Regions from separate parts of the Homo sapiens genome. Here region 1 is linked to region 2. Evidence: promoter capture Hi-C in 16 types of primary human blood cells and fetal thymus (Javierre and others, 2016). All regions are on one chromosome and are shown on one strand. Each heading gives the region's core, a stretch centred on a gene start or on the middle of the fragment in contact. The rest is flanking DNA. Distances are from core to core; before and after follow the strand shown. Region 1 has its middle 56 kb from the start of PTGS2. Region 2 holds the start of PTGS2 (prostaglandin-endoperoxide synthase 2).

Region 1 (4,348 bases), core at 725-3,224, 57 kb before region 2:
ATCAGATGCTGATTCTTAACTAGCTCCCATAATTGTGTAAGGTCAAACACCTGTAACAAATCCTTTTAGAGAGAGAGAGAGAGAGATCCCTAATAGTCCTTATTCCCTGATTGAACTCTCTGACTGATATGCCCAGCATAACTAAAATAGTTCCACTTGGCAGCAACATGATTACAGACAAAAATGAAAACATGGGCAATGAAATCCTGTGGGATATTTGGTTATAACAAAGTCACTCATAGAATGCAGAATAGAATTATTTTTGGATGATTATGAAAATGAAATTTTACAATAAAAAATTCTCATAAGATATCCTACATTATGTTGAAAAATATTTCTGTTATTCATTCTTATTTGGCTTTTTACATAGCAAGTTTTGGAGACATTGAATACCTGATGTTCTTGTACTTCCCATTCCCAACTTCTTTTGTTGCAGACACTGTTGCCTTGAACTTTTTGGAGGAAAAAAAGACATACCATAACTCATCCTTTTCTGTTTCCAAACTTATCTCCTGACTCAAAAGAATCCCACCTATCTCTCACAAATATACTTATTCTTTATTCAATCTATCATTTAAAAACATTATTCGGTATCTGCTATATGCTAGACATAGAACTGTTGCTATATATACAAAGACAAATCACTGTATTTTTGTTAAAGGAGCTGAGTTTCTAATACAGGTGAGAAGCAAACAATCTAACAATGACAGTACAGGGCAATGGGTGCCATAATGGGGCCATGCACAGGACTCTACAGAAGAGGTTGCCAGCTCACAATAGGATGTTGGAGAGAGCTTTCCAGAGAGGGAATACTTGGATATTTATTTACCTTTTTTGAGACGGAGTCTCACTCTGTCGCCCAGGCTGGAGTGCAGTGGAGTGATCTTGGCTCACTGCAAGCTCCGCCTGCTGGGTTCACGCCATTCTCCTGCCTCAGCCTCCCAAGTAGCTGGGACTACAGGCGCCCGCCACCACGCCCGGCTAATTTTTTTATGTTTTTAGTAGAGATGGGGTTTCACCATGTTAGCCAGGATGGGCTCGATATCCCGACCTCGTGATCCGCCCGCCTGGGACTCTCAAAGTGCTGGGATTACAGGCGTGAGCCACCGCGCCTGGCCTACTTGCGTTAAATATTACAGTCTGAATAAGGATTAGACTGTAGAAGGTGAAGGATCTTTTGGACTGAAAGAACAGGATTGTAAAGTTCTGGAGGTGCAAGGAAACATGGAATATTTTAGAAAATGTCTAATAGGGACTCACAAGTTCGAAGGTGAGGAGCAAGATCTAGGTTAGAATCACACTGCAGAATTATCTTCACTCAGTAAACAATTGAAGTCGTGGGCGAGAGAATACAGGCTGACCACAAACAGCAGGAAGACGATAGTGGCCAAGGACAGCACTCAGTTGGGCCACAGCACTTTCCAAGGTGAAAAGGAAGGAGAGCATGGGAAGCACACAGAAGGGGAGGCCAGAGAAGATGCAGGAGAGAATTATGTCCTAGAATCCAGATCTGCAAGAAAATTAATTTCTATTGTTTATACCAGTCTTGGGTATTTTGTTGCACAGCACAAATAGACTAAGACAAGGTGATATGCCAAGCACAGTGGCTCATATCTATAATCCCAGCACTTTGGGAAGCTGAGGCAGGCAGATCACCTGAGGTCAGGAGTTTGAGACCAGCCTGGCCATCATGGTGAAACCCTGTCTCTACAATTAGCCAGGCGTGTTGGTGGGTGCCTGTAGTCTCAGCTACTCAGGAGGCTGAGGCAGGAGAAATCGCTGGAACCCAGGAGGCGGAGGTTGCAGTAAGCTGAGATTGTGCCATTGCACTCCAGCCTGGGCGACAAGAACAAAACTCCATCTCAAAAAAAAAAAAAAAAGAAGAAGAAGGTTTATGAATCATTGCGTGTATCCACCAACTTCCTGCCAGGAGGATGCATGCCCCAATAGGGACCGCACTGTAATCCTGGGTCCTATGAGAGGAAGATGAGGAACAGAGCCCTTGCAGATGACCTACTGGTCCTGACATGGACCATGAGGAAAATTTAATGTTTGTTGTTGTAAGCCACTTGGTTTGAGTTGTTTTATCACCTCAGCAAAGCCGATTAGTATAGAATTTGGTGATGGATTTGAAGTATTGCTATTACAAAGTACCTAAAAAGAATATGACATTTAGACTTGTATTTAAGATTGAGCACATTAGCAAATTTGGGGCACAAGGTAATACCTTTATGACGAGAATAAACATTTTTACAGCCCTCTCTGTGTCAGAAGTTTTGAGTCTTCTTAAGTGTTAAGCGTCCATTATTATGTGGCATAAAGAAATAAATTTATTCCAGCTTTTAAATGGATTTTTACTTTTGGCCTCTTCACTGGAGTAGTGACATTTCGACATGATCATTATTTAGGTTGTCATGGATATATTGATTTTCATACTTATTTTGCAGCTAAAATATTTAAATGTTGATATTTTAATTATTACTGTAATTTATGGGTGACTGGACAAGAATTATTATTAGTAGTAGTAGTAGTAGTTTTTTTTTTTTTTTTTTTTTTGAGACGGAGTCTCGCTCTGTCGCCCAGGCTGGAGTGCAGTGGCGCAATCTCAGCTCATTGCAAGCTCCGCCTCCTGGGTTCACGCCATTCTCCCGCCTCAGCCTCCCGAGTAGCTGGGACTACAAGGCGTCCGCGACCACGCCCGGCTAATTTTTTGTATTTTTTTTTTAGTAGAGACACGGTTTCACCATTCACAGGATGGTCTCGATCTCCTGACCTTGTGATCCGCCCGCCTCGGCCTCCGAAAGTGCTGGAATTACAGGCGTGAGCCAACACGCCCGGCCGACAAGAATTATTAATATATGACTGTTCTTAGGCTGTGCCCACTTCATCTATACAGAAGGAGGTTCTGTCACACCCACTGTGATTCTGAAGAGTGTTATGCAGAATCCTGGAATCTGGGAAAAAGTAGCAAGAATAAATGTCACAGACTATTTTTAAACAATTATTATTTAGGAAAAGGAGTAAAAAAGGAAGATAAGCTAAACTCTTCAGGGGCTTGGCAATATCTGAACATGCGACATATTATTAGCAAGACGTGGAAGTTTTAGGTGCAGAAATGAGAGATGTGATCAGGGAGATCTGGGGAACAGAGTAATACTTTTGAGAAAAAGAGTCATCCTGGGTAGGAGGAAAGTGATAACCATCTGGGATTTTCAGGGTGTTGGAGAACTGAAAAGGACAGAAATTGGATTTTTTTTTGATTGTTTGTTTTTGAGACGGAGTCTCACTTCTTTATTTTTTATTTATTTATTTATTTTTTGAGACGGAGTCTCGCTCTGTCGCCCAGGCTGGAGTGCAGTGGTGGGATCTCGGCTCACTGCAAGCTCCACCTCCCGGGTTCACGTCTTTCTCCTGCCTTAGCCTCCGGAGCGGCTGGGACTACAGGCGCCCGACACCACGCCCAGCTAATTTTTTGTATTTTTAGTAGAGACGGGGTTTCACCGTGTTAGGGAGTCTCACTTCTTCACCCAGGCAGGAGTGCAATGACGCGATCTCTGCCCACTGCAACCTCCGTCTCCCGGGTTCAAGCAATTTCCCTGCCTCAGCCTCCCCAGTAGCTGGGATTACAGGCAAGTGCCACCACGCCCGGCTAATTTTCGTATTTTCAGTAGAGACAGGGTTTCACCATGTTTTGGCCAGGCTGGTCTCGAACTCCTGACCTCAAGTAATCCGCCTGTCTTGGCCTCCCAAAATGCCGGGCTTATAGGCAATGAGCCACCGCGCCTGGCCAGAAATTGAAATTTAATGAGTTATTGTAGACTTACGTACTTGGGTTTCTCCTGATGACCTGGGGGAACAACATAAAGAAAAATCAAAATTCTTATTTTTCTGCTCTTCTTTGAATGTAAAACTCCTGACTGAACCATGTGGGTAATGGTTTCCATATAGATTCACATACATGTTAGCTTACCCTCAGTCCATCCCTGATCCCCTTCATCCCTGAGATTTACTCTATCCCTGAGACACACTTAGTCACTCCTACTCTTCCCAAGTAGAACTTCCTTTGATCCCCACCCTAATCCTGACCCTACCCCATTCCTGAGCTTCACTGCATTTCACAAACTTAACCTATATCTTAATGGTGAAAATCAAGAATGAAGTTTAGATATGTGTAAAGATGAAGGTGTTTGTGGTATGTTATTGAATAATTTTTTAATTGTATTTTTAAAGTTTTCTCAAAATTCAACCTAAAATTCTTATTACTGTGTCAAAACTGCCATATCAAAATATTTTCTTCTATTTCTGCTTTCCTCAGTTATTACCATTTTTGATACATCAGGGATTCTTC
Region 2 (4,307 bases), core at 240-2,739:
TTAAAAGCTATCTTAAAGTCTTTTTGATAAGCTTGGAAATATGTTTTTAGATTAGGCTTACAGTATTATAAAGCATATTTTTCTTTGAGAAGGCTAAAAACCTTAGAAAGACACTTGTACTTACATGTCAACACATAACTCATAATTGCATTTCGAAGGAAGGGAATGTTATTCACAACGTTCCAAAATCCCTTGAAGTGGGTAAGTATGTAGTGCACTGTGTTTGGAGTGGGTTTCAGAAATAATTTTATTCTTGTCAAAAATTCCGCTGCAAGAAGACGAAGAAAGGGAGGGAGAAATTAATGGGACTCATTATAAGACACAAATCTATACAATGATAACTGTATCCAGCCCCACTCCTAATGAGGCAACCAAAGGACAAACTTACGTGTTGAGCAGTTTTCTCCATAGAATCCTGTCCGGGTACAATCGCACTTATACTGGTCAAATCCCACACTCATACATACACCTCGGTTTTGACATGGGTGGGAACAGCAAGGATTTGCTGCAATTAAAGGACAGCAAATAAATCATTCTCTAGTGTCTTAATCTTAATTTAAACATTTAATTGTTTGACTATGAATCAACTTTACAATAATAAATTCAAGAAATATATAGGTAGTCATGGAAATACAATTTTTTAACCTGCCTTAGAATGGATAAAACGTAGAAATACCAATTTTCTATTCTAAATAAGGATAACAGCATATTCAACTTGGTACATCATGTTACTAAGCTTTTCTTAGTTAACTCTTTAGATGTTAAAATTAGCATTTTTAAGAAGTTCAAATAAGTAGCACTTCACTTTCCAAATTAAAATGGATCTAGTACACTAATCAACATTTAGGGAAAAATTCAAAGTAAAACAGCTTACTTTTAAGACATTTTGCTTATCTTAAAACATAATCCGGGCTTTCCTGGGAGCAGGAAAGAACTGACTAGAATATTTAAAACAACTTCTTCCACTCAATAAAAAGGTTCCAAATATAAACAATTCACATATATTGATCAGATCCTGTCTTATCATAATGACAACCTGCAAATTAGTATCATCTATCCCTATTTAGGAGGTGAGAGTGTCTCAGATCGGTTAAGTAACTGGCTCATAATGATCAGTGCTTGTGGGAAAGCTGGAATATCCACGGAGTTCTTTCGAACTCTAGCGGTCCAAGCTCTTTCCCAAGTCACGTAGCTTCTCTATTCGGAGAGAAGTCGGAGTACTGGGATAGACCCAGGAGGTCAGAGCGGAAACTCTGCCCGGGTGCGTGGAACCGGAGTCCCCGGTGCGCGGCGCCAGGTACTCACCTGTATGGCTGAGCGCCAGGACCGCGCACAGCAGCAGGGCGCGGGCGAGCATCGCAGCGGCGGGCAGGGCGCGGCGCGGGGGTAGGCTTTGCTGTCTGAGGGCGTCTGGCTGTGGAGCTGAAGGAGGCGCTGCTGAGGAGTTCCTGGACGTGCTCCTGACGCTCACTGCAAGTCGTATGACAATTGGTCGCTAACCGAGAGAACCTTCCTTTTTATAAGACTGAAAACCAAGCCCATGTGACGAAATGACTGTTTCTTTCCGCCTTTTCGTACCCCCCACAAATTTTTCCCTCCTCTCCCCTTAAAAAAATTGCGTAAGCCCGGTGGGGGCAGGGTTTTTTACCCACGGAAATGAGAAAATCGGAAACCCAGGAAGCTGCCCCAATTTGGGAGCAGAGGGGGTAGTCCCCACTCTCCTGTCTGATCCCTCCCTCTCCTCCCCGAGTTCCACCGCCCCAGGCGCACAGGTTTCCGCCAGATGTCTTTTCTTCTTCGCAGTCTTTGCCCGAGCGCTTCCGAGAGCCAGTTCTGGACTGATCGCCTTGGATGGGATACCGGGGGAGGGCAGAAGGACACTTGGCTTCCTCTCCAGGAATCTGAGCGGCCCTGAGGTCCGGGGGCGCAGGGAATCCCCTCTCCCGCCGCCGCCGCCGTGTCTGGTCTGTACGTCTTTAGAGGGTCGAGGAAGTCACGTCGGGACAGACTGGGGCGAGTAAGGTTAAGAAAGGCTGACATGTTTTATGTTTTAGTGACGACGCTTAATAGGCTGTATATCTGCTCTATATGCAGCACATACATACATAGCTTTTTAAAAAACTCTTATTTTGTGGAATGAAATAGCTACCTTCAGTGTACATAGCTGTAATTTATCTTTGTAGCTAAGTTGCTTTCAACAGAAGAAATACTGTTCTCCGTACCTTCACCCCCTCCTTGTTTCTTGGAAAGAGAGGCGGGAAAGGTAAATTCTCCTCATAATACTGGTCCTAAGCAGTTACCCTGTAAATAGTTAATGTGAGCTCCACGGGTCACCAATATAAAGTTTCCTGCCTTCTGATGGACAAAGGAAGCGGCGATGGCCAGAATTTGCAGGGACGCTAAATGTCCAAAACGTATGCCTTAAGGCATTTCTCTCCCTGATGCGTGGATTATTTTGGTTACTAGCCCTTCATAGGAGATACTGGTAAAATAAATTCGAGTTTTAAAGTTCACTCTTTTGTCTTTTCTGTCCACTTTTCCAAGATTATGAGTTGTGACCATGGATCAAAGTACAACATAGCATTTACTTTTCAGTTGCCTGGGCTTATTGGGGCTAATTTTCTATTCTCGTTTTGGAACATAGTTGGATGAGGAATTAATTAGATGGAAGGGAGATTTTGACAGTTGGAATTTCATCTTTGCTTTTGTTTAACATCTATCATGGGTAGTGCTCAGGGAGGAGCATGTGAGGGTGAGATACTAAAAAATATATATATGTATATGTGTGTGTGTATATATACATATATATATACACACACACCAGAAAAGAAGTGGAAAATAGAAAATTCAGTTATGTCCTAAGTCCTTAGCATTACAGGAAAATGACAGCATAAAACCTGAAATAAAACTACACCAGGTACCTCAATTTGTAGAAGTCTTATAAGAAAAAAATAAATAAGAGACTCACTTGGAGGTTTTTTTTTTAACTGTTTTGCTTAGTGTACACATCTGATTCTTCATGAGACACGGATGACTAAAATTCCATCTCATCTAGGAAGCCTTTCTCCTCCTCTAGTCATATTTCATCATTCCATTTATGGCACTCCTATTTATTGCATGGAATCTTACATGAAATTTCAACTAAGAGCGTGGATCATTTTCTTTTTGATAATTTAATAATTTCAATCTTCTGTTTCATTTTAAAGGAGTAGGTTGCATCTACTGAAATTTGAAGTTTATAGTTAGAGCTACTAATGTTAGTTTGGGTTAGAAGCCATGTTAGAATCCATACTGTGAGAGAGTACTAAAATTTTACATTACAATCCTGAATTCATTTTGAAGTGATCATCATCATTGTCTTCCTTATCAGACATTAATTGTTCTGTTGTCTGAAAAGAGATTTGGATACAAAAGTGAGGGAAAAACAGGGCATAAGGAATAATTATATTTAGATTATTTTAAACTCAAAGGAATTGAACTCCATCTATCCCATAGTGGAAATTCTGTCACTTATATAGCAGGATAGAGTGAAGAGTTCCATGTACTTGGAAAGTCAAAAAAAAAAGTTCAAGGAGAATCTGGGACTTTAAGGATGGGCAGAGTTTTAGAAAGAAGTGCAAATCTGAGCATAAGGAAAAAAGTTACATAATTTATTAAATAACTGACAATTCTGAGACAATAAAATAAAACGGATAGGTACATTTGGGATGCTGGTCATGGGAGTGTATTAAATGTGCCAAACTAAATTAAGACCACTAAACCTGTTTTATATGGAAAAGTACTGTGACTATTGTGTACCATAAAAAAAAGGTTTGATCATGTAAAACTTATAGCTCTCATGTTTGCATATATTCAATGTTTCTGTGTCTATTTTAGGCAAATATATGGATCTGTTGTACAAAATTTCTATTAGCGTCTGAAATTTGTTGGGAAATAATCTACATGAAAAGAAAATAAGGAAGAATCTTAAAAATCTTCCAGAGCTTTCTGTTGAGTTTTACTGCCCCCTTCTGCTGCTTGAAATTTTGTCAACTTTTTTCCTAAGATGCTAGGAAGATTGCCAGACAGATTTTGTGTTTAATTTTATAATGTTCTAAACATTCACATGTTGCACTGTTCATTTCAGATTTGTTTCATGAATATGTTGAAAAGAAATGAAATATTTATTAATTGAAGTGATAAGCCATTCATGTGAGTTAAAAGAAAATGAACAATAAAGACTCTTAATGTCCAAAATTCCAAATAAACTAACTTTTTTTTCCCTTCCTTGTACTTTGAGCAGGGTTCTACTACTCATACATACAGAT

What was found. The method cuts DNA at HindIII sites, captures the fragments that hold promoters and counts their contacts. A CHiCAGO score of 5 or more calls a contact.
Region 1: a contact is called between a fragment that was not itself captured here and the fragment with the promoter of PTGS2 in region 2, in 2 of 17 cell types (neutrophils and monocytes). The highest score is 6.5, in neutrophils.

The regions. Positions count from the first base shown.
Region 1 is chr1:186,621,802-186,626,149 of GRCh38, forward strand. No RefSeq gene overlaps it. Among named protein-coding and RNA genes, the nearest start is that of PTGS2, 56 kb to the right of the region's middle. The HindIII fragment of the contact is 9,391 bases long and covers 1-4,348 here.
Region 2 is chr1:186,678,934-186,683,240 of GRCh38, forward strand. It overlaps PTGS2 (prostaglandin-endoperoxide synthase 2), which reads right to left and starts at 1,490. Exons shown (of 10, transcript NM_000963.4): 1 at 1,306-1,490; 2 at 389-505; 3 at 125-268. The coding sequence starts at 1,357. PACERR (PTGS2 antisense NFKB1 complex-mediated expression regulator RNA) reads left to right here and starts at 1,721. Exons shown (of 1, transcript NR_125801.1): 1 at 1,721-2,513. The HindIII fragment of the contact is 7,534 bases long and covers 735-4,307 here.